Linked DNA regions of Homo sapiens: regions 1, 2, 4, 5, 6 and 7 are each linked to region 3. The links are contacts of gene promoters, found by promoter capture Hi-C in blood cells and fetal thymus (Javierre and others, 2016). All regions are on one chromosome and are shown on one strand. The core of a region is centred on a gene start or on the middle of the fragment in contact, and the rest is flanking DNA. Distances in the headings are between cores, read along the strand shown.

Region 1 (4,033 bases), core at 908-3,407, 470 kb before region 3:
CTAGCGGGCAACGGGCATGGGGGAGAGGGAATTTCAGAGAGGCTTTTTTTGAAACTCCTTTCCCTTGCCAACTGGCTCCGGTCCCTTGGGCAATACTCCGGTCCCCTCGGCAACGCCCCCAATCCCCGACCTGCCGCACCTTAGCCCCGCCCCTGCCCCGGAGCGCCCTGCCTATTGGCCCTGGGAGCCTCTCGTCCTGGCGGCGGGAAGGAGCGACTCTGGAGGGAGGAGGGTGTGGGGAACCCCCCAGAGATGGGCTTCTTGGAGGCCTGAAACCACCGGAACGGAGGTGGGGCACTTGTTTCCTGAGTCCGGGCTGGAAATCTCGGAGTTACCGATTCTGCGGCCGAGTAGTGGAGAAAGAGTGCCTGGGAGTCAGGAGTCCTGGGCGCTGCCGCTGACTTCCTGGCGTCCCTGAGTGAGTCCATTTCCCTCCCAGGGTACCAGTTTCCTCATCTCTAAAATGAAAGAGGTTGCGCTATGTTTTGCAAGGTCCTTTTCAGCTCCGGCATTCAGAGATTAGTTAAGAAATTTCGGCAACTAGCAGAATAGTAATGGATGGGTAGGGAACCTTTAACACTACCCCTCAAAAAACCAAGTCTCCCCTCCAATTCCTTTTCCCCCTCTCCCCAGAAAAGAGGAGGCGAGAGGCTATCACTGCAGCGACCTGCCTGACAGAAGCTTTGGTGGATCACCTCAATGTGGGGTATGGACCTCTTATCAACATCAGTTTCCTCCTTCCCCACCCCGCCCAAGTTTAGGCACTGGCCAGTCTGGCCCTCAAATAGCTGTTGAAGGGGTGGGATGTTCCACTAATTCCCCTATCCTACCCCGCCCCTCCCAGCTCTTTGTAGAGCAACTTGAGTCAACTCTGAGTCCTAGCACTGGGCAAGGGAGGAACAGCTGCCGTGGTTAGAGAAGCAGCCAGATTTCCCCTTCCCCACGTTAACTTCCCTGGCATTTACAACTTGATGCCATCTGCCCACCTCCCTTCACCCTTCCAAGTCCAGCTGTCACTTCAGCAGGAGGGAGAGCACCCTCCTTCATTACAGCTTACCACCCTCTCCTCTGCCTCCCACCCTCTGGCAAGCCTGGGGAGCAGCTGGCAGGAAAGAGATGGCAGAGCTGGTGGTGGTGAGAGTAGAACCTGTTCCGGGAGCTATGGCAGAGCCAGGCTGTCTCTTACCTTCCTATTGGGTCTCTAGGGACCACACCCTGCCCCAGCCCTAAATGAGAATGCAAGTAACAGCCAAAGACTTGGGAAAAAGCAAAGAACATTGTCTCTTGACCCTAAGTGACCCAGAAGCGTGCAGAGATGATGATTTGCTAGTCTGCCTATTGGAAGAAAGGCAGTATGGTACCTTCCACCCCAGGTCAAGTAGAACAGCTCGGTGTGAATCCAGAGACTGAGTCATCCAAGTGAGCCATGCAGGGGCTGGGGTCATCTTTGTTACTCATCTTGGGGGAAGGTTGAGAGAAAGAAAGTTGTGGCTGGGGCCTCTGATCTCCCTTCTCTCCAGGCAGCTCTCTTTACTCAGTGTGAATATAGAAGCAGGTGGTCAATGGGGAAAACCAGAAGTTCAGGAATTCTCAGGGGAGTCTGTTTCAGTTCCTACCCGACCCTTGACAGTGACCCAGCTGTCTCCCAAAAAGAAGGAACAGGGTCTGCCCTCCCATTTCCTCCCTCCCACATTGGCACCTCCTGGGCTCTGCTGTGCCCATCATTTGTGAGATTGGCCCAGGCCTTTCCCTCTTCTTTTCCTTTGCTAGATGCCACCCCACTTTCAGCTTAGAGGGCAGCTAAGCCAAAGCCAGATTAGAAAGGGTTTTGTGTTGCTGCCCACGCCTCCTCTCATTCCCCGGAAAGGAAAACAAAGGCTCAGTCTATCTTGGCCCCTGTCAGGTGTCCTGCCCACTCCCTCAGCCCCCACCAACCCCTTCCCCGCTCCAGCCCCCACACATTCCAGTGGGTGGGGGCACCGGATGTGGAATCTCCTGGCTGAGTAGAGCTCTGGGGTGGGAAGTGAAAAATTCAACAGCCAATAAAGGAGAACAATTATTGCAGGGGTTGGGGAGGGCAAAAAACACTGGCAGAAGGTTGGGGACACCAACCCCATGGTAGTAATGGTAACCACAGCCCATACCTTGATTGAAAAGAAAAACTAGTGCCTAAGGCAGAAGGGAGGGAGAGCATGTGTGTGTGTGTGTGTGTGTGTGTTTGTGTGTGTTCCTTGATCTGTGTGGGCAAAAGCGAAGGCTTGGGAGAGCAACTGAGAGCCGAGAAGAAACCCCTGGGATACCCTCTTTTGACCCAGGGTTCCTGGGGAGGGGGTTTGTACTCCCATCCTAACCCGGCTTCAGGGAGGGGCCCAATTTCCCTCTCCAACTTCTTGCATAGATCCCTAGGCTTCCAATCACTGCCAGATGTGTTCCTCCTGCTGGATTTTCCCAGTTTTTCCATGCCCCTTTTTCCCTCCCAGCTTTTTCCTCAGGGATATCACCCCAGGTTTTCCCTCCCTTCCCCCACTCAGCTGCAGGAACTCCTTTTTGGGGTTTGGAGCTGGTATGTTTCTAGTCAGCTCCGAGCTTGGCTCTCCTGGGAATCCTGGGAGTGAAAGGAAGGAGCTGGGTTTATTTGCATGTACTGGTAGTCATTTGCATCACATCCAAAAATGGCCAAAATTATGAGCCCTGATTCTTGGCTGAACTCCCACTGCTGCAATGGAATATTAGTCCCGGAGACCACCCCCAACTAGCTGGAGCTGATCTCCTCCCTCCTCCAACCCCCCAGTGTGGCCCAGGCCTACATGAACCAGAGAAAGCTGGACCATGAGGTGAAGACCCTACAGGTCCAGGCTGCCCAATTTGCCAAGCAGACAGGCCAGTGGATCGGAATGGTGGAGAACTTCAACCAGGCACTCAAGGTGGGCCATACTCCCTACCTCACCACCCCAATCCTGGGCCCCCATTGGCTGCCTCCAGTCAGGTTACCTCAGGTTTAGGTTAAGGAGGAAGTAGGGTGGTCCCAGAAACCCCATCTATAGCCCCAGTGTCAGAAAAGGTAGAGAAAGAAAGAAAAGCAGTTGGTGGGTCCAAGTAAAGCCTTTTCCAGGAGATGAATAAAACGTATTCCCCAGACTGGAAGCCATACTCTACCCATTCTGATTCCTGGGCTCCCACCTCCTCTCCCCCTTCCCAGGAAATTGGGGATGTGGAGAACTGGGCTCGGAGCATCGAGCTGGACATGCGCACCATTGCCACTGCACTGGAATATGTCTACAAAGGGCAGCTGCAGTCTGCCCCTTCCTAGCCCCTGTTCCCTCCCCCAACCCTATCCCTCCTACCTCACCCGCAGGGGGAAGGAGGGAGGCTGACAAGCCTTGAATAAAACACAAGCCTCCGTTTCTCTGTGGTGTGTTTCAGAGAGCTACTAGCTCCAGTGTCGGGGGTGGGAGTGGAAGGTTCAAAGGTGGTTTCCCTGAGGGACAGGTACCTTTTGGGGAGAGGGTGGAACTAGCTTCCTCTTACTATCCCAACTCTCTTCTCCTCCATGGCCCTTGTGCAGGTGTCTGTTAGGCAAGCAGAGGGTGGGAGTTCCCATCCCTCCTGAGAGAAGGTCCTAGTAGCCCTGCCCCAAGCTTCCTAATTCAGGACTTGTTTCCTACAGAAGAGAAACAAGGCAAGGTACAGGCCTGGTCCCCAGCTCTGGCTTTCTGCCTCTCCACGTGCTCATGGCCTCTCCCAGGCTAACTCTAAGCAGTGTCATGAGTCTGAGCCAGGTGGGAGATTAATTCCTGGGGGCACTTCAGGGCTGAGAAGGGGGAGGAATGACAGGTCCAGTAACCGTTACCAACAGAGCAGTGCAGCTGCCATCCTTGACAGCTCCCTCCTCCTTGGAGACCATGACATAGATGGTCAGGAACCCAGGCTGAGAAAGACAGCCAAGGGGTGGGGGGAGCCTAGGCAAATCTGGCCTCTGCCAAGTCCTGGCTTCAGCCAGGCAAGCTCCAGCCTCCCTGGCTCCTCCTCCTCC
Region 2 (3,931 bases), core at 1,053-3,552, 480 kb after region 3:
GTTTATAGTCTTATTTTATGACTTCAAAATCCAAGTCAACTACTGCAATCATGCTTTAAAAAAAAAAAAAAAAAAAGTCCCAATGATGAAATTAGCAAACTAGCTGTGTTAGTTTGTCTTAATGCATTAACTTTTGTAACTTTTGTAGCTAACACTAATTCCTTTTAAAATCATTAAAATGGTTCAACTTCAGGATTAAAATTGCCATTGTTAACATCTATTTACTATGACTGCAAAATGGTCTTAAAAATAAAATAACATGCATCATGAATACCATTAGGTGCCCAAAACCATATTAAATTGACTACATAGACAGGTACCGTGTGCTTCGAATGGGGAGAGGTCCATTTAAAGGAACTTACCTCAGAGAAACGATCAAAATTAGACATGTCTTCATCTGAATCATCTTCCCAGTCTTTCCAATTATTGAAGTCGACACTAAGCCAATTAAGCTATAAATCAATACAAATATCACCCTAAGATTAGGCTAATTTGCATTTGGCATGAACCTTAAGACTACGTTTTCTTTTCTTCTAAAGAGACCAGGTCTTGCTATGTTGCCCAGGCTGGAGTGCAGCAAGCATTCACAGGTGCAATCCCACTATTGATCAATATGTGAGTTTTGACCAGCTCCGTTTCTGACCAAGGGTCTTGTTTACCCTCTTCAGGCAACCTGGTGGTCCCCGCTTCCTGGGACAACACCGTACTGATGTTAACTTAGCGTGGTTACCTGACATATGGCAATGCAACCCAGACTTGGGCGCAAGTATTTCTCCCACTTCACCCTCCAGAGTAGCTTTTAACTACAACAGGCACATGCTACTGGTGCCTGGCAAAACAATATTTTTTGAACTGTGACTTTGTATTTTTAGGAGGGCATGTAATTAGCACACAAAGAATAGACTAAGCTAAATGAGGTGGCTCACACCTGTAACCCCAACACTTTGGGTGGCCAAGGTGGAAAGACTAGTTGTGTAATCCTTCAGGAGTTCGAGACAGCCTGAGCAATAGTGGATCCTGTATCTGGGGAAAAAACAAAAAAACAAATTTCCTGGGCGTGGTGGCACATTCCTACAATCCTAGCTATTTGGAGAGGTGAGGTGGGTGGGAGGATCGCTTAAGCCCAGGTGGAGGCTACAGTGAGCCATGTTCACACCAGTGCACTCTGGCATGAGTGGCATGAGACTACCTAAAAAAAAAGACTAGGCTGGTGTCGTGGCTCATGCCTGTAGTCCCAGCACTTTGGGAGGCTGAGGTGGGGAGACTGCTTGAGCCCAGAAGTTCAAGACCAAGCTGGGCAACACTGTGATACCCCTTTCTACAAAAAATACAAAAATTAGCCAGGTGTTGTGGCATGCCCCTACAGTCCCAGCTACTTGGGGGACTGAGGAGGGAGGATCACTTGGAGCCTGGGAAACTGAGGCTGCAGTGAGCCAAGATCGTGCCACTGCACTCCAGCCTGGGTGACAAAGAGAGACCCTGTTTTGGGGGAAAAAAAACACTGAAAATTGTTAAACATACCTTTTGAAAACAAATTTACTAGTAAGAACTATTTTCAGTTGATTATTTTTTCACCAAGCTTTGTCCCCTCCCATGTGATAGCTGAGTAATTTATGCAAAGTCTGTCTCTTAAGTACAAAAGATTCTACACCAGTTAATAACTGATATTCTGATCACACTTCGTATTAAAACTGAGTAGACAAAAAACATGAACATGAGGCTTTATACTTAGCTGTGAAACAAAAACACAGCCATATTCCTTACATCAAATAAGTACATCTTTTATTACCTAAAATAAAAATATCAAACTTTTCAAAAAAGGAAAATGAAACCTACCTTTGCCCTTTCTTTTGTTAACCTTGGCCATGACTGGCCAGATTCTCCTTTTCGTAAACAACATAAAATTGATCTGTCCGTTCTTTTATGCTTGGAATCCTAAAAACAAAAGGACCATCATACCATTTATCTTTCCAGCATCACTACATGATAGAAAATAGCTTGTCATTTCTCACCTTTCTCATTTCTTTACCTAAATTTTCTCTGGACTCTGAAACATGCCCTTGACTACTAAAAACTTCAAACTATCCAACTGCCCCAACCCCCTTTAAGTTTCATTTAAAAAAAAATTTTTTTTTCCCTTCTATTTCCTACTGAAATAATCTGCACAACAATAAAGTTTAAAGTTTAACCTGGTACCATTTTTTTCTTTCCTGCACACGATAAACAGAATAAAACCTTAAAAACTTTAACTAAAAATGATATAACCACAGAATGGTTTAAAGATTCTATTCTTAGATAAGGGAAGCCTTGGCCGGGCGCAGTGGCTCATGCCTGTAATCCCAGCACTTTGGGAGGCCGAGGCAGGTGGAACACCTGAGGTCAGGAGTTTGAGACCAGCCTGACCAACATGGTCTTTACTAAAAACACAAAAATTAGCCAGGCATGGTGGCATGTGCCTGTAATCCCAGCTGCTCCAGAGGCTGAGGCAGGAGAATCCCTGGAACCTACGAGGCAGAGGTTGCAGTGAGCCGGGATCGCTCCATTGTACTGCAGCAGTCTCAAAGAACAAAACCAAACAAACAAAAAAACAAAACAAATAAAAAAGATGAGACGAGCCTCAAGGATACTACTCTAAGCCCAAACAGTGATAGCAAAAACAAAAAGTATGCAGAAACCAATTTTGGAGGAAATATTCTACAAAATGTAAATATACATAGTTTGCCTCACTGTTAAGAAAAACAGAACTAATGCTCATTGCTAAAAAGAATACTTGGTATGTCTGTTTCCTCACAACTAAAATTTGGATTAAAGCATAAAGACTACTTACATTTGGATCAATACAGTGAAAAAGATCAATTTCATTTAAATGCTTAAAATTATCACTTCCTCCGAGACAACTGTATAAAATAATAAAGAAAGAATTAAGCCTCTTCAAAGAGACAAAGATTAATAATAACTTCAATGAAAAGACAAGCCAGTCAAAGTTATTCAGTTGTGTGAATGACTATTTTACATCATTGGATAAAAAGCTTAACTTACCTGAATGTAAGTTTGGATTTTTCAAAATTTACATTAACATCCTTACTGTCTTCAACACAAAATTCAATGAAGACATAGTCCCTTCGATCGTACCACTTTGCAGAAGCAGGCTGCCTACAAAAGGATAAAGTAGGGAAAGTCAAGCTGGAATTCATTAACTAAACATTCACATACTAACCTTCGACACCATTATAGCATTATTTCAGGGCAGTTTGTTACAATTTTAAACAAAAACTACATTTTTACCCTAACAGCTACATTCCAAGTTAAAACCTATGGGTCTAACAAGATTTAGTTTCAGAATGATTCCAATTTCATAATAGGAAAGATTTAAAAACCAAACAATGCTTAGTAGAGTTAGCCGTTTATCTAGTCCTATCAAAAATTATGTTACTTGGCTGGGTGCAGTGGCTCACACCTGTAATCCCAGCACTTTGGGAGGCCAAGGCAGGTGGGTCACTTGAGGCCAGGAGAGCTAGAGACCAGCCTGGCCAGCACAGCGAAACCCCGACTCTACTACAAATACAAATACGGAAAAAAAAAAAAAAAAAAAAAAAAAAAGCAGGGTACGGTGGCTCACGCCTGTAATCCCAGCACTTTGGGAGGCTGAGGTGGGTGGATCACCTAAGCTCAGGAGTTCGAGACCAGCCTGACCAACATGGTGAAACCCCATCTCTACTAAAATACAAAAATTAGCCAGGCACAGTGGCAGGCGCCTGTAATCTCAGCTACTTGGGAGGCTGAGGCAGGAGCATCGCTTGAACCTGGGAGGCGGAGGTTGCAATGAGCCGAGATTGCGCCATTGCACTCCAGCCTGGCAACAGAGCGAGACTGTCTCAAAAAAAAAAAAAAAAAAAAAAAATTAGCTGGGCATGGTGATGCAGGCCTGTAG
Region 3 (3,736 bases), core at 809-3,308:
CCCCATTTAGTCTCTATAAAGAAAATGGCAAAAGGGAGGCCCTGGACACCCCAACCAGGAAGCTGAAATTCTGCTGCCACCAGCCCAGGTGGCCAGTGTTGGGGGGAACAGGGAAGCTTACTACTCTTCCTCAGTTATACTCTGAAATTGGAGTTGCAGGACCCTATTATCTTGGCACCTCATCTTTAACCAACAGCACTGAGGGTTGTAAAATTCTGGAGGTTTATAAAGTTCAGGTCATGGAAGCAATACCTCTGGGGCTCTAAGAGAGACATTTCTTAGGGGAACTCTGTAAAGCCATGATTCCCCCTATAATGTAGCCTAACAAGAAAAGGTACAAGGAAGTGAAGGAGGGCAAGTTGACTGAGTGAGCTTGTGCATTTTGCTTCTGAAGACTGGGTATAAATGTCTTCATAGGCCCTCCTAGACAGGAAGGGCCATCCACTACCCAGCCTGATGGAGAAGAGCAAGACAACATCTACCCTGTCCGAGGAAACTGTATCTGAGACAAGTAACCCTGGCCCTACTTCTATGTTTCCACACTCTGCTACCTAGTAGCATCCTAGCCTTCCATTCTAATTTGAACCTGAGCCAGGAGACTTTCTTTTTACTTTTTGACCCGTTTTCTCCCCACTCATCACAAAGAAGACAGTGCCTCTCAGTGAGAGGTGAAAAGAGATAGATCTGTGAAGGGAAAGGTAAATGACAAAGAGCTAAGAGCATGGAAGCTGAACCAGGTCACAACTGTCAATTCCCCCAAGGCCGGAGGCTAAGCCCCTAGCCTGATCTCCCTGCAAAAGGTCAAAGGTAGAAGCCTGGGAATAAGAGCCTCTCACAGGCGTAGAGACATGCCATAGAAATAGCAGCTATTTGTCAGGATTCTCACACCCAGAGAGACCCCAAGGGCAGGGCCAGGCTCACAACCAGCATCAGTAGGAAGTTCTCCTAAGCCACTAAGCACACTTCTGACGAGCTGCAAAGCCGGCAGGAAGAACTGGGGAGCTGAAAGAAAGCCATAAAGAGAATCCCTCTCTGAGGGTAGTGAGAAAAAGAGAGGCAGACCATTTCCAGAGAAAACCAGGCCTAGAGACAAAGACGACACCAGGAAGAGGTTTGGTAGAAAAGACAGGTAAGGATTCTTGAACCTTTTGTTCACCACCTTATGATCTCCAGTTATGGGGTTTGGGTGTGAGGGGCTAGAGATAGGAAGCTCACCCTAACCTCTCGACCCCAAACCCAGGGTACTGCAAAGCTAGGTTGCAAGGTGACTTCATTGTAAAATCGAGGAAAGGTTTCGGAAGGGGCCGCTACCCAGGAACTCCTATACCCCGGCTCCCTGAGAGATTCTGTTGCCCCTTAGATGAAGGTGGGGGATGAGCGGCGGAGACAGGTGATCCCTGGGTGGAGACCTTTTTCAGGCTGATGAGCAGCCAACGGCTTGCTCTGTGACTGTTTACCCTCCTGCTTTCCATTCTCTCTCTCTGAACATACACAAAGCACCGGAGAGGCCTCAGCCCCGCTGGTACCTGGCTCCGTGGGGAGCTCTGGCGGGCACGCTCCGGGTTGCGGGGGAGCCCATTGGGCACCCGGTCCACACCCGGCCGGCCGCCTCTCCCAGAAAAGCCAGGAGGGCGATGGCTGAGGGGAAGGTGGGCTAATGGCACCGGGGCCCGCCGGGCAGTAGAGAAAAACAAGGGGCAGAGGGCGCAGCAGTGGGGGCGGGGGCTGGGCTCAGAGGCTGGGGGTGCGGGGAGAGGGAGGCTGGGGGAGGGGCGCGGGAGCGCAGGAGGGCGCGCGGGGGGCTGCTTGGGAGGCCGCGGGGGAGGGGCTGGGGCGCCTGGAGGGTAGGCAGGATCCCGGGGCTGCAGGGCCGCGGTCCCTTTGTCCCGCCCCCGGTCCCCGCGCGGCCCGGCCCGGCCCGCGTACCTTCTTGTAGTTCTTGCCGAGCCACAGCCGCACGTTGTCGAACTGGGTCACGGTGTCCGCGGCCTCGTAGTACTTCACGTTGGGGCCGCCGTCCTTCTTCCGCACCGCCATCTTCTCCGGCTCGGGCCCCGCCGCCGCCCGCCCCACTCAGCTCAGCTCCCGCCTCCTCCGCCTCCTCCTCCGCCCGCCTCCCGCCGCCTCCCGCCGCCGCGGCCGCCGCCTCCCGCCGCCTGGGCCGGCCCCGGTCCGCGCTGCGCCCCCTGCCGGCAGGCCGGGCGCGGCGGCGGAGCTCCAGGCGCGGGCCGACCCTGGCGGCCTCCCCGGCAGCGGAGGCGGGAGCCTCCGGGGAGAAGGACGCTTCCTGGAGGGGGCGCCATTCTCCTGAGATCGCTCTTACCAGACGCGAAGCCCTTTCCCTCTTTTTGCCTCAGCTCGGGAGTGTCACCTCGCTATCCCACTCCAGGCGGCCGCCAGTCGCTGGAGCAGCCCCAACCCGTAGACCCGAGTGGTCCTCACCTTGCGCATTCCTAACCCGACGAAGCCCCTCGTCCCCCAAAACCCCAAACCCCTTTCCCCAAGAAGTTCCTTCCTTCCATCCATTCACAGCAGCTCCCCATTTAAACTTTTCAGAGTCTCCCTCACTCCTCGCGCCTTGTCCACCCAGCACTCCCCTCACTTGTTAACCCAAATGTCCCCTAGTCGCCACCCTGGCGGCCCAGTGCCTTCCCTCAACTGCTTCCTCCGCAGGCCTCGCTGTCGCCTCCTAAGTAGGTGTGAGCTCCTACTCGAGACCCCGACTCTTCGCTAGGCAGGAGACCCTCCCTCCCTGGGTCACCCAGTCCATCCGACTCTTTTTCTTTGGGTGGCGTAGATAGGAGGTAAGGAACCGAGGGGTGGGGAGTCCTCAGGTGTGTGTGTGTCGGGGCCGGTACCCTGCTTCCGGTTCCCGCACGCATTCCCGGATTGCAGTGCGGACCCCTTCTGTAAGCGCGCGATAAAGCGCGGTTTTGGAAGTCACGGTGGCCGAGTGGTTAAGGCGTTGGACTCGAAATCCAATGGGGTTTCCCCGCACAGGTTCGAATCCTGTTCGTGACGGGTTTTTTTTTTTTTTCTTTCTTCTTCTTATTATTAAAAGGGAGTCTCGCTCTGTTGCTCAGGCTGGAGTGCAGTGGCGCGATCTCGGCTCACCGCAACCTCCGCTTCCCGGGTTCAAGCAATTCTCCTGCCTTAGCTTCCCGAGTAGCTGGGACCACAGGCATGCGTCACCATACCTGGCTAATTTTTGTATTTTTAGTAGAGACAGGTTCACCATATTGGCCAGGCTGGTCTCAAACTCCTGACCTCAGGTTATCTGCCCGCCTCGGCCTCCCAAAATGCTGGGATTACAGGCGTCGACTTTTTTAACCCCTTTCACAGCACATAAAGGTAACCCCAGTTCTCACACGTTTCTTTCGTGCACTTTCTCTCTCCAAAAGGGAAGCCGCCAAAAGGTCTTAACCCCTGGATTTGGGAGGATGGGAGTGATCTTGGGAAGTTTAATTATGCACGACTGTATTGGCTGCTAGACTGTGAGGCATTTTCAGAATTTTGTAACTTCAGGCTTCCTGGGAGAGCTTTGGCACATGTCTCATTCTTTTGAGGGCATAGGGAAGGATTTGGTTGAAGGGTTACATTTTGGGAATGTGAGTGGCTGTTTTGCAATATTAGTCAAACTTAGAGTTTCCTCTAAATTTCATGACCAGAAGTCACACCTTGTAGGTCTGATTACACCGAAGACCCAGGAAACAGGATTCTCTCATCTGGATTTCCT
Region 4 (3,736 bases), core at 50-2,549, 460 kb after region 3:
ATGGCGTGAACCCTGGAGGCGGAGCTTGCTGTGAGCCAAGATCACGCCACTGCACTCCAGCCTGGGCGACAGAGGGAGACTCCATCTCAAAAAAAAAAAAGTTAAAAGTAAAAAAGAGCTATTTCTCCATGAGACCATTAAGCTGAAGTTTGTGAACTCTTAATTTTTCTCACTCTGTTGCTATCAATGTTGGCCTTTAACAACCTCCTCTCCCTCTCCTCTGAAATCAGTTAAATTTATTAATATAAGTAATAATGTCTAAAATAGAATAAGCTTGATTAGCTCAGATTGAGATATGCCTTAACCAGCATTCTGAATAAATAATGTAATCTATTTTAGAGTTGTAACATGTTTTTGTCCTACATATTTTTTTTTGAGATGGAGTCTTGCTATGTTGCCCGGGCTGGAGTGCAGTGGCACGATCTCAGCTCACTGCAAGCTCCGCCTCCGGGTTCACGCCATTCTCCTGCCTCAGCCTCCCGAGTCGCTGGGACTACAGGCACCCGCCACCACGCCCGGCTAATTTTTTTGTATTTTTTTTAGTAGAGACAGGGTTTCACTGTGTTAGCCAGGATGGTCTCGATCTCCTGACCTCGTGATCCGCCCATGTCGGCCTCCCAAAGTGCTGGGATTACAGGCGTGAGCCACGGCGGCCGGCCTTTCCTACGTATTTCTTGATTGAGACCCAGATTGTCCAAGTGATATTTTATATAAAGTACAAGTCGGGGTGGCTGGCCGGGCGGGGGCTGCCCCCCACCTCCCTCCCGGACGGGGCGGCTGGCTGGGCGGGGGCTGCCCCCCACCTCCCTCCCAGACGGGGCGGCTGCCAGGTGGAGACGCTCCTCATTTCCCAGACGGGGCAGCTGCCGGGCGGAGGGGCTCCTCACTTCTTAGACGGGGCGGCCGGGCAGAGACGCTCCTCACCTCCCAGACGGGGTGGCGGTCAGGCAGAGACACTCCTCAGTTCCCAGACGGGGTCGTGGCCGGGCGGAGGCGCTCCTCACATCCCAGACGGGGCGGCGGGGCAGAGGCGCTCCCCACATCTCAGACGATGGGCGGCCAGGCAGAGACGCTCGTCACTTCCCAGATGGGATGGCGGCCGGGAAGAGGCGCTCCTCACTTCCCAGGCTGGGCGGCAGGGCAGAGGGGCTCCTCGCATCCCAGATGATGGGCGGCCAGGCAGAGACGCTCCTCGCTTCCCAGATGGGGTGGCAGCCGGGCAGAGGCTGCAATCTCGGCACTTTGGGAGGCCAGGGCAGGAGGCTGGGAGGTGGAGGCTGTAGCGAGCCCAGATCATGCCACTGCACTCCAGCAAAGACCAGTCAGGCGTGGCGGCACGCGCCTGCAGTCCCGGGCGATCGGCAGGCTGAGGCAGGAGAGTCGGGCAGGGAGGTTGCAGTGAGCCGAGATGGCGGCAGTGCAGTCCAACCTCGGCTCGGCTTCAGAGGGAGACCATGGAGAGAGGGAAGGGGAGGGGGAGGGGGAGGGGGAGGGGAGGGGGAGGGGAGGGGGAGAGGGAGAGGGAGAGGGACGGAACCTGAAGTTCTAGAGTGATGCAGGAGTTACCCCTGCAAGGATGGTTATGTAAAAATGTCAAAAATAAATGGAACCTGAATGGAAAAAAAAAAAAAAAGTACAAGTTATTTTTCACAGGGGAATAGGAACCACACAGACCCACCCAATCTGGTTTCTTATCTGAAGTTAATTCCAAATGACTGTGCTCTGTAATTTAAAATTCATCTTGAAGTGAAAATTACATTTTCCACCAAATCCTTTCATTACTGCTATCCACATTGGTCATACCCCCACATCCTTCCAGTACTCTGGTAATTGGTGGAATGTGTTTTTTTGGTCTCTACTACATTTCTTGACAATCATCCCGGATTATTTCAAATTCCACGAAAAGAACCCATTCAATGCCCTGGCTTCAGAGATCCTCAACCACTTCAATTCCAATTAGTTTTTCACATTCCCATTTCACATAAGCAGCCTACTTCCACAGCCATTCCCAAGTTGAAATATTCTCTTTCAGAAATCCAATATTCCTTTCTTAGGTCACAATTTGGAAGCACTATTTATTACACAAGTAACATATGAACATATTCTAGGTGTACAGGATGAGTTCTTTCACCATTACTTCCAAAACTTCCACTGTCCTTCCCAAAAATGACCATTGAAAAAACTTTTTGCATACATTCCACTCACTTTCTGTTTCATATACATATAATGCAGGGTTCCCCAGTGCCTGGGCCACAGACCAGTACCCGTCCATGGCCTGTTAGGAACCAGGCCACACAGCAGGAGGAGAGTTGTGGTCGAGTGACCAAAGCTTCATCTGTATTTACAGCTTCTCCCCACTGCTCACGTTACCACCTGAATTCTGCCTCCTGTCAGATCAGTGATGGCATTAGATTCTCATAAAAATGGAAACCCTATTGTTGCGGGAAGTCAGGGACCCCAAACGGAGGGACCGGCTGAAGCCACAGCAGAACATAAATTGTGAAGATTTCATGGACATTTATTAGTTCCCCAAATTAATACTTTTATAATTTCTTACGCCTGTTTTTACTGCAATCTCTGAACAGAAATTGTGAAGATTTCATGTACATTTATCACTTCCCCAATCAATACTCTTATAATTTCCTATGCCTGTCTTTAATCTCTTAATCCCGTCATCTTCATAAGCTGAGGATGTATGTTGCCTCAGGATCCTGTGATAATTGCATTATCTGCACAGATTGTTTGTAGAGCATGTGTGTTTGAACAATATGAAATCTGGACATCCAAAAGGAACAGGATGGCTGCGATTTTCAGGGAACAAGGGAGATAACCATTGGGCCTGACTGCCTGTGGGGCCGGACAGAACAGAGTCATGTTTCTCTTCTTACAAAAGCGAATAGGAGTAATACCGCTGAGTTATTTTTCTCAGCAAGGAACAGCCCTGAGAAAGAGAATGCATTCCCAGGGGGAGGTCTCTAAAATGGCCGCTCTGGGAGTGTGTGTCTTATATGGTTATAGATAAGGGATGAAATAAGCCCTGGTCTCCTGTAGCACCCCCAGGCTTATTAGGATTAGGAAATTCCTGCCTAGTAAATTTTAGTCAGATCGGTTGTCTGCTCTCAAACCCTGTCTCCTGATAAGATGTTATCAATGACAATGTGTGCCCAGTGGGACATGAAACTTCATCAGCAATTCTAATTTTGCCCTGGTCCTGTGACCTCACTCTGCCCCTATTTGCCTTGTGATATTTTATTGCTCTTGAAGCATGTGATCTCTGTGACCCACACCCTATTCGTACACCCCTCCCCTTTTGAAATCCATAATAAAAACTTGCTGGTTTTGCAACTCAGGGGGCATCACGGATCCTGCTGACATGTGATGTCTCCCCCGGACACCCAGCTTTAAAATTGCTCTCTTTTGTACTCTTTCCCTTTATTTCTCAGACCGGCTGACACTTAGGGAAAATAGAAAAGAACCTATGTTGAAATATTAGGGGCTGGTTCCCCTGATACCCTATTGTTGTTTTTTGTTTTGTTTTTTGTTTTTTTTTTTTGAGACAGAGTCTCGCTCTGTCGCCCAGGCTGGAGTGCAGTGGCATGGTCTCAGCTCTCTGCAAGCTCTGCCTCCTGAGTTCATGCCATTCTCCTGCCTCAGCCTCTGGAGTAGCTGGAACTACAGGCACCCGCCACCACGCCTGGCTAATTTTTTTGTATTTTTTTTTAGTACAGACAGGGTT
Region 5 (4,013 bases), core at 75-2,574, 440 kb before region 3:
TATCCCAGCTACTTCTGATCTCTGAATTCTCACCCCCCAAACCCTACTCCATTGCACCATCACTGAAGCTCCAGCCAGTAAAATAACTGGACTACCAGGGCCCTGGGACCTCAGAGAATAATCAAGAAAAAAAAAAGCTATAGAGACTTTGGGTATCATATCCTGAATATATGAAGTTCATTAAGCACTTTCTCCTCATCTCCCTTAGAAGGTCCTCTTTCTCCCAGGGTGGGGGTGGGGAAGAGCTGACAGGACACCCTAAGTCCATCCTGATTTTGCAGAACTCAAGACATGGGGAGGATACTTAAAGGCCTAGACTTCCTAACCCTGCTTATATGGCTCTGGAAGCTCATTCCTGATTCTTCCTATCTAGAGTCAGGATAGACATATTCTGTCCAATGGAGACATGTTGTAGGACACTCCCAACTGACTTAGGAAAGGCAGTGAAGAGGAGCTGGAATGGAGGCAGAGGCAGATATTTATTGAGAATCATCTATTAGACCCAAGAAGGATCAATTTAAGGTCCAGAGCAAGGGGAAATGGGTCAAAATGTAAAGTTGGGATGTTCAAACTTTGTAAAGACCTACTGGCACTAGACTGAGAAGTCAAAGGAAGCTCAGGGGAGAAAAAAGGCATTGTAGTTAATCTGGTGTATTTAATATTATTTCTGGTGCTTTAGGCAAATAGGAGGCAACACCATGGAGGTAATTATTCCTTTCCTCAAGAGCTGGGGGCAGTCATGGTGATGATGATGGAGCAGCAGCTGAAGAAACTTCTTAAGAGAGAATGGGGAGACAGATGTATAGGAAGTGCTTGGATAGTTCCATTTTGCTGGGTGTTATTCCTAATGGGAGTGAGGCAAGAAGCCTAGATCTGAATTCTGGTTTACATAATGGGATAAATTTAGCTCATGCTCCCTATCTGGACCCTGGGTTATCCCCTCTCTGAGGCCATCTGTGTTATTTTGTGGGGGAGGGATGTGCCAGGCTCTACCTGTCCAGCAGATAAATCAGAGCAGATAGGGGAAAGGTGATGGAAGGGCAGCAGGTGTGATAAGAGGTATGGCTTCTATAAAGAGCTTCAAAGATTCAGAAAATGTTGGAGCCTTATATGCTGGGAAAAGTTGGACAGTAAGGATGGTGGTGGATGAATAATTTTGCAGGTTATCTGGTAGACAGGAACCTATATATTAGGGCAAATGGATTAGGAAATGGACACAGATCAGTAAGGCCTTATAGGGCCATCATCCTAAAGAGGAAGTGCTGTTTTAGGTACCGGAGACATGGTATAAGATAGGCATGGGAGAAGGGTAAAGAAGAACTGGAAAATCAGGCTGAGAAGTCCAAAATTGCCAGTGCCACCCAGGACTACTGATCCCCTACACAAACACCCTTTGCTGATGCTGTGCCCTTCTCTCTTATCAGCGGACCCAGCAGTACAGACAGATGGCAGCCCTCTCTGCTGCCATTTTCACTTCAGCCCCAAGGTGATGTTCACAAAGGTACTGAAGGCCCAGCTGTGGGTGTACCTACGGCCTGTACCCCGCCCAGCCACAGTCTACCTGCAGATCTTGCGACTAAAACCCCTAACTGGGGAAGGGACCGCAGGGGGAGGGGGCGGAGGCCGGCGTCACATCCGTATCCGCTCACTGAAGATTGAGCTGCACTCACGCTCAGGCCATTGGCAGAGCATCGACTTCAAGCAAGTGCTACACAGCTGGTTCCGCCAGCCACAGAGCAACTGGGGCATCGAGATCAACGCCTTTGATCCCAGTGGCACAGACCTGGCTGTCACCTCCCTGGGGCCGGGAGCCGAGGGGCTGGTGAGCAGGGGGCCTGAGGTGGTGGATATGTGTAACCTGGCCCTGAGGAGATAGGGTTACATTGGAAAAGGTAGACAAGGAATGTGAAGGAGGTTGGGGACCAGCATTACTTCTCTGGGGTCAGCAGCTGATTCTAGAGGAGGAGGTGAGGAGTGGGGTGGCAACTATTACTTCTCAAGGATCCAAATCAGACAACAGCTGAAAACTGGATTTGAAGGTAAAGGTGTCAGTTAATGGAAGAGCTGTGAGAACAAAAAAACTGGCTGTTGAGGCGTTGGGCCAAGGGGCTGACAGGGATCAGGTTGCCAGAAGAGTAAGAATTAGAGATGGTGAGTTGAAGGAGAGCTAGCTAGCTGGCAAGAAAAGTGGGCAAAAGATAAATTCTGGGGGTGGGAGCAATGGAAAAGCTGAGAAGTCAGCAGTCTCTATTCTGATGCCCCTGGCAGGTGGGAAAGGAACAGGGAAGAGGAACTGTTCAGGACCATATCACATTTCTTTCCCCTCTCCCTGACCCTCAGCATCCATTCATGGAGCTTCGAGTCCTAGAGAACACAAAACGTTCCCGGCGGAACCTGGGTCTGGACTGCGACGAGCACTCAAGCGAGTCCCGCTGCTGCCGATATCCCCTCACAGTGGACTTTGAGGCTTTCGGCTGGGACTGGATCATCGCACCTAAGCGCTACAAGGCCAACTACTGCTCCGGCCAGTGCGAGTACATGTTCATGCAAAAATATCCGCATACCCATTTGGTGCAGCAGGCCAATCCAAGAGGCTCTGCTGGGCCCTGTTGTACCCCCACCAAGATGTCCCCAATCAACATGCTCTACTTCAATGACAAGCAGCAGATTATCTACGGCAAGATCCCTGGCATGGTGGTGGATCGCTGTGGCTGCTCTTAAGGTGGGGGATAGAGGATGCCTCCCCCACAGACCCTACCCCAAGACCCCTAGCCCTGCCCCCATCCCCCCAAGCCCTAGAGCTCCCTCCACTCTTCCCGCGAACATCACACCGTTCCCCGACCAAGCCGTGTGCAATACAACAGAGGGAGGCAGGTGGGAATTGAGGGTGAGGGGTTTGGGGGAAAGGGGAAGCAGGGGCATAGTCAGGGTGGGGAGTGTTTGAAGTTTGCAGATGAGAAGGTTTGACAAAAAGACAGAGAGATGTAGAGACAGTGATAGAGACAGAGGAACAAAAAGAGCAGCAGTGAGAAGGCAAAGAGAGAGGCAGAAGAGACAGACGAGGCAGAGACAAAACACTGAGAAAGAGACTGAAATGGAGTAATAAATGAAAGCCCCACACCAAGCCTCCTTTCTTCCACTGGCAAGGTGAGGGGCTTGGTATAGTTTGGGGAGATCCCCTGACTATTCAGTAGGAGAAGAAATCAAAAATCCATTCTTTTCTCCTTCTCTCCCTCCAACAGTGGCCAGGGGAAGGGGAAGTGAGGGCAGGGGCAAAAAGATTTGGGAATTTTTATTTATTTATTTATTGTGACTTTTCATTTTTTTGGTATTTGGCTTTACTGGAATAGGAGGGCCCCTGCCCACTGTGCCCCGTTTATCCCTTATTCCCCAAACCCTGCTCTCCCCAACACCTACTCACTTAAGCACTTGTATAAAGCCTCCAGGGTTGGGAATGGGAGTAAAGGGCAAGAGGGCGGACACATGAAGTTTAGTTTCTAACCCATCATCACCCTAACTCAACCTTTTCTGAGCCAAATGGCTTGAATTGAAGCCAGTTGTCATGGAAATAGTAAGAGGTTAGGGTTTAAGAGCTGGGGATGCGGGGGTGGGAGAGAGAACCCTCAACATCCAGGATCTATATAATGAGAGCTACTTTAAACCCTCAGGTCCACCCTCATGATGCTGAGTTATTTAGCCAGAGGGTGCAGCCTGCTTATGCCCAAATTCCCTCAGCCAAGAGAGAGACCAAAGAGCCTCTGGAATGGCCCTGCTCCCAGCCTCTATCTTCAGGTCAATTAGAGAGAGTATAGAGACCCCAGAGTCCCCTGGGTCTGGAAAGCGTTAGGAGAGGTCAAGAAAGGAGCAGTAAGGAGGCTGAAGGTTACAGGGCATTTGAATCCAAATCACTGCTCTGGGCTAGGGAATAGAGCCAGCAGACCAAGGTGGGAAGGATTCTGGAAGGGGGACATTTTAGTCTCCTAACCCCAAAGCTCAGGGTGGAAGAGGGGAGA
Region 6 (3,631 bases), core at 601-3,100, 420 kb after region 3:
ACATCACCTTGGGAGGAAGGGATACCCAAGTTAAGAGTTCAAGCAAAATATTTAAACAATAGGCCAATAGGGAAAGGCTAACTACAACATGGGACAGAAAAGTTTCTTGGAACCAGACAGGGATAGAATAGAATCTGGATACTCACCACTACCAGAAGCAGTGAGTCCTTCTCCAGTGATCTCTTCCACGTCAGCAGTGGTTTCTAGAAAGCTGCTGACATCCTTATTTGCTGGGGAGGCTGTTGGAAAGGCAGCTGCTGGGGAAGTTACGGGAGAGGCTTTTGGGGATGTCACTGAAGCCGTCAACGGGACTTCTAAGGAGACTGCTGGGAGGACTGCTGAGGAAGCTGGAGAGACCACTGAGAAGACTGCTGGAGAGACAACTGTAGAAGCTGCGGGACAAACTTCTGGAGAGATTTCTGGGGAGGCTGCTGGAGAAACCACTAGGGAGACTGCTGGGGAGGTTGTTGGCGAGACTGCTGGTGAGGTTGCTGGATGTAGCTGAATAGTGGATGACTGATCAGGAGCTGGCTGGGTCAGGGATGGTGGGAAGTCTGAAGATTGAGTTTCCATTTCTTCCTGTTCAGCGTCACTACCATTATTCAGGTCAAAGCTGTTATCTAGAATCCAAAGGGACAGGATAGGCTTTAAAAAAAAAAAAGGCATCACATAAAACAAGAGAATCTACTCAGTCAACCCTGGACCAAGCTAAACAGGGTTACTTCAAGGGGTCTTCCCTAGGGTTGGAAAAAGAAGTAGCTTTTTCTCCCAACCAATCATGAGGATTAAAGGGTAAAGTTGCTACAGATGTCATTGTGTGAAGAAATACCTTTTACCTGGTGCCAATAAAGCTTCTAGCCTCCTTCTCCCTACAAATTCCAAGTCTCACAAGTTCTTCAAAGCAGAGGGCACAGGTCGGAGTATAGCAGCCTATACCTCTTTTAGTTCCACCATACACTATCCCATAGCCCCTCAGCTCCCAGCAAGGTGCTCTTGCTTTCCTACTTTTTTTTTGAGATGGAGTCTTGCTCTGTTGCCCAGGTTGGAGTGCAACGACACAATCTCGGCTCACTGCAACCTCTGCCTCCTGGGGCCAAGCGATTCTCCTGCCTCAGCCTCCCAGGTAGCTGGGATTACAGGCATGTGCCAACACACCTGGCTAATTTTTGTATTTTTAGTAGAGGCGGGGTTTCACCATGTTGGCCAGGTGGTCTCAAACTCCTGATCTCAGGTGATCCACCCGCCTCGGCCTCCCGAAGTGCTGAGATTACAGGCGTGAGCCACTGCGCCCAGCCAGATTTCCCACTCTTAAGGCCCTAACTATGAAACTTATTCTCTCATCTTTTCTCAGGTAAAGGTCTTTCTTTGTCCTACCTACCGTCACTTACCTTGCAGGACAGACTCCCCTAGGACAGGTGGAGAGGTGGGACTGGCAAAGATAGAGGTTGATGTTTGACTATCATCTGCCAGGAGACTGAAGGCAGTAGCATTATTGAGGGAAGGGCAATCAAGGGCAGAAATCACAGGGCTGTCCTCAAGAGGCAGCTTGTCCTCTGCACCCATCAGCTCCGTGTCATCAATACCATATAGTCCTCCACTCACTGGCTCTGTTTACAAGGGTAGAAAAATCAGAGCAGGATAATGAGAAAAAAATCAGAAAGCAAGATTTAAGAAACACTGGTCAGAAAACATCCAATTCTAGTTCCCACAATGTGAAGATTCTTCCTAATATTAAGTTAGGTAACAAGTAAAGCCTTCTCCCTGAAAGAGTAGTCATGAGATTATAGGGATCATAAAAGTTTGAGGGGAGGCCGAGGCAGAAGAATTGCTTGAGGCCAGAGTTCAAGACCAGCCTGGACAACATAGCAAGACCTCATCTCTACAAGGTGAAAATGAAAGGAAAGGCATTGGTGGTATTATCTACCCAGAGACCTATGCAAAATTCTAGGATTTATCATAAAATATGTCTTTCTTGTACTTCAGTGGAGTAAAAGGTAACTGCTCACTGACAAATGTTTTCTTCCTAGTTTGTCAGAACCCAGAAAGATCAACTGTGTGATAATAAGTCCCTACCCAGTGAATTATTACAGCCCAGAGCTCTTGGCCAAAAGGAATACTGGGAAAGAACCTGGGACATGAACCAATTCAGCTCAGAATTCAGTTAGGGCACCAAGTCCTGTGGCATGTAACTGTGGTCTGCCTTAGGCCTACCTGGAAGCCCCAGTGCCCCTGATTGCCTAATACTTTTCCCATTTTACTGTCTCTTTCAGGTAAAGTTTGGCTACTCTGCATGGATAAGTTAAAGGGACATAGCCTCCAAACCTACCTGGTGCCAGAGAGTTGAAGGGCTCCAGAGAGTCTTCACTGAGGATTGGAGTGTCTTCCAGTTGATCAGGAAGATGTGAAGGATCATCTAAACAGCTCACTGTGGGGTCAGGGACCAGGACTGAGACCTCTTGGTGTAACGATTCCACAGAAGGGACAGAGCCATTGTAGCCACACATCTTCAGTTCTAGGAAATCACAGGAGAGACCAAAAGTCAAAATCAGTGCCTTATATTGGTTCACTTAGCTATACTAGGCAGTCAATCTTTGCTAGAAGGATGTTCATTCATTCAACATTTATTGCGGCCAGTTCATTGCTGGGAACCGATCACATCAAGATACTCTGAGCAGAGATGTGCTGGTAAAATCAATCCTACAGCAGGCAAAGAGAGGAAAAGAGAGTGGGGTCTGATACAACATCTCTATCATGTTCTCAGATATCTCCTCCATCCATTGGGAAACGAGAAAACATCCTGTAATTTTACAGAGTGGTGGTTACCCTTGTACCAGGAATCAACTGGAAGCTAAGCTTTTATCTATTTTGAGGGAAAAGATGAGAGGGGCTGTCACGTGTACTAATGCTAAACAACAAAAAAAAGGAAACTGAGTAGACAAATAATGATATGCTCTGCCTGCTTCCTTCCCTCCTTCGCATGCCAATCACTACATTGGGCTCAGACGACTTTAACAGCCAGTCTGATCCTGCCACAGTCAGTTAAAACAGCCTCAATGCCCGCTGCTAGACCCTAACCACTCCGTATATTTTGAAAGAAGCCTTTCTTGATGCAGGGTGTCTGTTGGGGCTGTTTCGGGCTCGCCCACCTGCCCTCTCCAGGCCAGAAGCTCTGCATGAGCTTGAAATAATTTGCACTCCCACTCGCGAGCTGGTGCTGCTGCCACAAAAACACCAGCCACTTGGCTCTGCTAATTGCTAATCACCAACATGCAAATCAGCCTCCACTGCAGAGAGCTGGAAAGACAAGTTTTTCTCACCTCAAAAAGCCACTATCCCCCCCGAGCTCCATTTTTCCTTTCCCCACCCAGTTCACCAACCCAGTTATACCTGGCTGCTCTTCTTCCAGCTCCAAGCTGCCTACCAAGCCAGTGCCATTCTCTGCCACAACTGAAGTCATCTCCTTTTCTGCTGCCTCATCAGGATGGATACCACTGCCTACCTCCTGGGAGGGTGCAAAGGTTTGAATGCTAGATCCCAACATAGGAGAAGTCTGTGGGGAGGTGAAAAAACTAGGGGGTCCATTGGGCATCACCTCAAAATTCTGGTCAGGAAAGGAATCATACAGTTCTTG
Region 7 (3,887 bases), core at 1,254-3,753, 440 kb after region 3:
CTCAAAAAAAAAAAAAAAGAAAGAAAGAAAGAGAAAAGAAAAGAGAGAGAGAAGAGAAAAAAAAGAAAAGAAGAGAAGACCAGGCATGGTGGCTCACACCTGTAATCCCTGCACTTTGGGAGGCCGAGGTGGGTAGATCACCTGAGGTCAGGAATTCGAGACCAGCCTGGCCAACATGATGAAACGCCGTCTCTACTAAAAATAAAATAATTAGCTGGATGCGGTGGCGGGCTCCTGTAATCCCAGCTACTCGGGAGGCTGAGACAGGCAACTCGCTTGAACCCGGGAGGCAGAGGTTGCAGTGAGACAAGATCACACCACTCCAGCCTGGGCGACAAAAGCAAAACTCCGTCTCAAAAAAAAAAAAAAAAAAAAAAGACAGAAAGAAAAAAAAAGAAAAGAAAAAGAAAAGAAAGAAAAATAAAATTCTGTGGCCAACTGTTGCCCCTAACCAAATCCAGTGTGCCACAAAATGCCTGGGGACATAGCACACAGTCCATCACTATATGTTACAGGAGAAATATCCTGGGATTATCAAGTGAAAAGAAAGAAAAAAAAAATCTGGGCACGACTTTGCAGGGAACAGAGGAAAAGCTTACCAATCTCCAAGAAGAATAAGAGGGGAGACGTTCTTTTATGGATTAAAGAGTAAGTCATATGATAACAAACTGTACTATTCTAATTAGTTGATTCTGCAGAAGGTAGTATCTCCAGCACCCCTTAGTCAAATAACAAGCTTCCCACAGGGGCTGCCCTTAGGCTAGAATCACCACCAAGGACTGAGTTCACCAATCTCAGTCTGTTAATCAGTCCCTACCCCCGACACACAAATCCATCTAATAGTTAAATCTTCCTCACCCCTTCCTCTTCGTCCATTTCTTAGAATCTACCCTTCTTCACAAGCTCACTTGCTCAGGTGCTCTGCAATATAGAAACTGTCATAATAACTATACTAAAGTAGGACCCCAAGAAGCTACTCGTGCCACAAAAGCTCTCTAGTCTCCCTGACAGCTCTCTATGCTGAGGGAATTTGCATCACTTACATAGAGCGTACCCCGCTGGTAGATAACTGAGTTTGCTTCTCTATGACCTCTAGCTAAAGGGAAAACAAAACGAAACCAGACAGGAAGACAGAGATGTTCTGGAGAAGGGATTGGGATACGTGAGTCAACTGAAGTTGACTACTTCCAGTTGACAAGTTTACAAAAAAAAAAAAAGTCCAACGAAAGGTCTCTCGGGCCACATGGTTGGCAAGATCCAAGCTTGCCCAGAAGGCTTCAGAAAATGAAACCAAATCTGATTAAAATGGACATTTCAAAACAACAAGACACGCAGCAGCAAACGCACAGCTGCCATTTCCCGGCCACTTCCTGCGGGAGGCTGGGGGAGGGGCTGTTTGTGTACAGATAGAGGTGGAAAGCTATCCCCTCCGTCGTCCCCCAAAGCAGACAAATCTCTCACTCCAATTAACCCTACAAAGGACAACTGCTATTGACATTGCCTTCTCCTGAAAACTGGGAACACCGGGAAAGAAAGGGATGATGCGGTATCATCTTTCTGCCACGGAAGCGGGGATCCCCTCAGTGAGGAATCTCCTTGGAAAAAGGAATTCCTCTTTATTCTTCCCTTCTGCCCCTCAGCCCAGCTCAAATTGGAAAGCCTCAGCGGAAGCCCTATCAACCTCCATCCCCGGAGTGCGCGATTCTCCCGGGACGCGAGGGCCCCAAGCCAAGCGCAGCACCACCCTCAGCAAGGAAGGCCCTCTCCTGATCTTCACGCTCAAGAGAATGGGTGCGCTCCCCGAGGGAGACACCCTCAGACCCCTGGAAACCCCTTCCGCCCTCCACTCACCACAGTCAAAACGCCCAGCTCCCCGCAAACGGAGCGTTTTAACCCGCCAAGGGAACCCCCTCACCCACCCCTCGCGCTCAGGCAATCCCCACCCCCACCCGAGGAGGTGGAGCCCCTCCCGGGGATTCCACCCCAAGTCCCCCACAGGAGTCATCTCCACCAGCCAGGCGGCTTCTCCGCCTCCTCACTGTCGCCGGGAGCCCCTACAGCTCCTCCTGCCCCCGCGGCCCCGTCCGGGGTCCTCAGCAGCCCCACCAGCCCTGTTCTCCTCCCAGACCCCAGAGCAAGGAGACCCTCGCCTCGGGTTGGATCCTCGCAGGAAATAAGCTCCCGTCGGCTTCCCGCCCCGGCAAGGCTCAAGCCGGCTCTGGAGCTTCTGTTCCCCGAGGGAAGCCTCGGATGAAAGCGGGGCTCCCTCCCCCTCAGGCCCCTGGCCACAGACCCCACAAACCTGAGGCAGCGGCGTCCAGCCGGGCTCGGGGCTCGTCTCTCCCCGGGGTACAAGCGGTTCACATGGCCGCGCTCCGGGCGCCAGAACGGGTGGAGACGCCCGCTGGGGAGGGGGTCTGGGGTCCGGGGTTCGGGAAGGGGGAGGGGGACGCGGCTCAACCGCGGGGCCCGAGAGGAGCCAACATGGCCGGCGGGGGAGGAGTGAGTCGGAGCCGGAGGGGGCGGAGAAGCCTCGGCCGGGAGAGAGTCTCCCCACGCGGCCTCCGCCACAGGGTCCTAAAGCCCGCCAGCCCATCTTTCCGACCCGGACCTGGGTCCTAGCGCCGCTGTGCCTCCTGCAACTCTGGCCACCTTGCCCACCTGGCAGCTCCCTCTGCACCCGCATCTCATGGAGGCAGTGGTCCTGCTTCACACAGGGCAAACTGAAAGGCATGCCACAGTCCCAAGGTTAACTTAAAAGACTAGACCAAACGTCTAGGCCCAAAGGCAGGTGCCACTTCTCTAACAGGCTGGTAGGGGTAAGAGTCAGGGGAATTTCGGGGGCAGTTATTTCCCAGGTAGGGTAATGGAAACGTGGAAATAGAAAGGTTAGTCACTCAGGTCGCGATTCAGTAAAGGGATGGGGAGAGGCAAGAGTCAGCCACCCACTCACCTCTGTCCCTTCAGTGCAGCCTGGTCCTGCCTGGATCACCACTTTCCTGGCGACATCTGCAGGGCCCTGGTCACCGGAAAGGAAAGATTCCTGTGCGTGGGGGAAAGAAGGTTCGGCTCTGGAACCAGACAGCAAAGACCTGAGTGTAGCCTAAATGCAGTCAGAGAAGTAAAGGATAAGCTGAAAACTAATCAGCAAAAAGATGCCACAAATGTCCACCCATTCTATGGTTCTGGGAATTTTTTTCTGACAGGGCTACATAACTGTGTGAAAACTCAGAAAAGTAAAATCTAGCAGAGGACTAGAGTTTGGCTGTCACCTAAAATGTCCACTGCAGGGCACCAGGATGAAGAACAGTGTCATATGATGTTAGAGCTTAGAGAATTTCTAGTTCAGGCCGGACGCGGTGGCTCACGGCTGTAATCCCAGCACTTTGGGAGGCCGAGGCAGGTGGATCATGATGTCAGGAGTTCAAGACCAGCCTGACCAACATGATGAAACCCGGTCTCTACTAAAAATACAAAAATTAGCTGGGTGTGGTGGCGTGCCCCTGTAATCTCAGCTACTCAGGAGGCCGAGGCAAGAGAATCGCTTGAACCTGGGAGGTGGAGGTTGCAGTGAACTGAGATCGCGCCATTGCACTCCAGCCTGGGTGACAGAGGGAGACTCTATCTCAAAAAAAAAAAAAAAAAAAAATTCTAGTTCAACCTTCTCTCCTTCATCAAATGAAGAAATTAAGACCCAAAGAGGTTCAATGACTTCTTCAATGTCAAACAGTGGATAAAATATGACAAGAAAGGAAACCAGGTTTCCTTTCCTTGCAACTCAACACTTTGCAGCCTTGAAGATAATTCCCATTTAATTCAATGCAATGCAGTTCTAGAAACAGTTGCCTAAACTGTGCAAAGCTCAGGCTGCTGAATATTCTGGAAAA

What was found. Contacts are between HindIII fragments. The CHiCAGO score rates a contact against its expected background, and 5 or more counts as called.
Region 1: a contact is called between a fragment that was not itself captured here and the fragment with the promoter of SMARCC2 in region 3, in 5 of 17 cell types (total CD8 T cells, fetal thymus, naive CD8 T cells and 2 more). The highest score is 7.1, in total CD8 T cells.
Region 2: a fragment that was not itself captured here is called in contact with the fragment with the promoter of SMARCC2 in region 3 in 1 of 17 cell types (total B cells); the score reaches 5.1 in total B cells.
Region 4: a fragment that was not itself captured here is called in contact with the fragment with the promoter of SMARCC2 in region 3 in 2 of 17 cell types (total CD8 T cells and naive CD4 T cells); the score reaches 5.8 in total CD8 T cells.
Region 5: a fragment that was not itself captured here is called in contact with the fragment with the promoter of SMARCC2 in region 3 in 7 of 17 cell types (total B cells, total CD8 T cells, naive CD8 T cells and 4 more); the score reaches 9.0 in total B cells.
Region 6: a contact is called between a fragment that was not itself captured here and the fragment with the promoter of SMARCC2 in region 3, in 4 of 17 cell types (naive B cells, naive CD4 T cells, erythroblasts and 1 more). The highest score is 7.0, in naive B cells.
Region 7: a contact is called between the fragment with the promoter of BAZ2A here and the fragment with the promoter of SMARCC2 in region 3, in 13 of 17 cell types (erythroblasts, M2 macrophages, total B cells and 10 more). The highest score is 9.0, in erythroblasts.

The regions. Positions count from the first base shown.
Region 1 is chr12:55,716,300-55,720,332 of GRCh38, forward strand. BLOC1S1 (biogenesis of lysosomal organelles complex 1 subunit 1) reads left to right here. Exons shown (of 4, transcript NM_001487.4): 2 at 634-706; 3 at 2,792-2,924; 4 at 3,200-3,404. The coding sequence ends at 3,310. BLOC1S1-RDH5 (BLOC1S1-RDH5 readthrough) reads left to right here. Exons shown (of 6, transcript NR_037658.1): 2 at 634-706; 3 at 2,792-2,924. It also overlaps a transcript of ITGA7 not described here. Among named protein-coding and RNA genes, the nearest start is that of RDH5, 2.1 kb to the right of the region's middle. RefSeq lists enhancers at 212-451, 1,382-1,541, 1,642-1,691, 1,802-1,961. The HindIII fragment of the contact is 2,957 bases long and covers 680-3,636 here.
Region 2 is chr12:56,669,913-56,673,843 of GRCh38, forward strand. It overlaps PTGES3 (prostaglandin E synthase 3), which reads right to left. Exons shown (of 8, transcript NM_006601.7): 2 at 3,040-3,153; 3 at 2,828-2,897; 4 at 1,837-1,935; 5 at 363-452. It also overlaps the pseudogene RN7SL809P. Among named protein-coding and RNA genes, the nearest start is that of PTGES3, 16 kb to the right of the region's middle. The HindIII fragment of the contact is 1,450 bases long and covers 1,578-3,027 here.
Region 3 is chr12:56,187,425-56,191,160 of GRCh38, forward strand. It overlaps SMARCC2 (SWI/SNF related BAF chromatin remodeling complex subunit C2), which reads right to left and starts at 2,059. Exons shown (of 29, transcript NM_001330288.2): 1 at 1,927-2,059. The coding sequence starts at 2,037. It overlaps TRS-CGA4-1 (tRNA-Ser (anticodon CGA) 4-1), which reads left to right and starts at 2,940; the gene lies at 2,940-3,021. LOC107984468 (a long non-coding RNA gene) reads left to right here and starts at 3,268. Exons shown (of 2, transcript XR_007063330.1): 1 at 3,268-3,736. RefSeq lists silencers at 1,796-2,015, 2,086-2,365 and an enhancer at 2,606-2,705. The HindIII fragment of the contact is 5,408 bases long and covers 115-3,736 here.
Region 4 is chr12:56,650,970-56,654,705 of GRCh38, forward strand. No RefSeq gene overlaps it. Among named protein-coding and RNA genes, the nearest start is that of ATP5F1B, 6.9 kb to the left of the region's middle. The HindIII fragment of the contact is 2,056 bases long and covers 272-2,327 here.
Region 5 is chr12:55,747,162-55,751,174 of GRCh38, forward strand. It overlaps GDF11 (growth differentiation factor 11), which reads left to right. Exons shown (of 3, transcript NM_005811.5): 2 at 1,425-1,822; 3 at 2,341-4,013. The coding sequence ends at 2,721. Among named protein-coding and RNA genes, the nearest start is that of GDF11, 6.0 kb to the left of the region's middle. RefSeq lists an enhancer at 1-361. The HindIII fragment of the contact is 9,248 bases long and covers 1-4,013 here.
Region 6 is chr12:56,611,627-56,615,257 of GRCh38, forward strand. BAZ2A (bromodomain adjacent to zinc finger domain 2A) reads right to left here. Exons shown (of 29, transcript NM_001300905.2): 3 at 3,388-3,631; 4 at 2,327-2,512; 5 at 1,389-1,607; 6 at 147-620; 7 at 1-7. Among named protein-coding and RNA genes, the nearest start is that of BAZ2A, 17 kb to the right of the region's middle. The HindIII fragment of the contact is 2,002 bases long and covers 850-2,851 here.
Region 7 is chr12:56,627,823-56,631,709 of GRCh38, forward strand. BAZ2A (bromodomain adjacent to zinc finger domain 2A) reads right to left here and starts at 2,504. Exons shown (of 29, transcript NM_001300905.2): 1 at 2,303-2,504. RefSeq lists a silencer at 2,091-2,440 and enhancers at 2,661-2,710, 2,741-2,810. The HindIII fragment of the contact is 7,835 bases long and covers 1,261-3,887 here.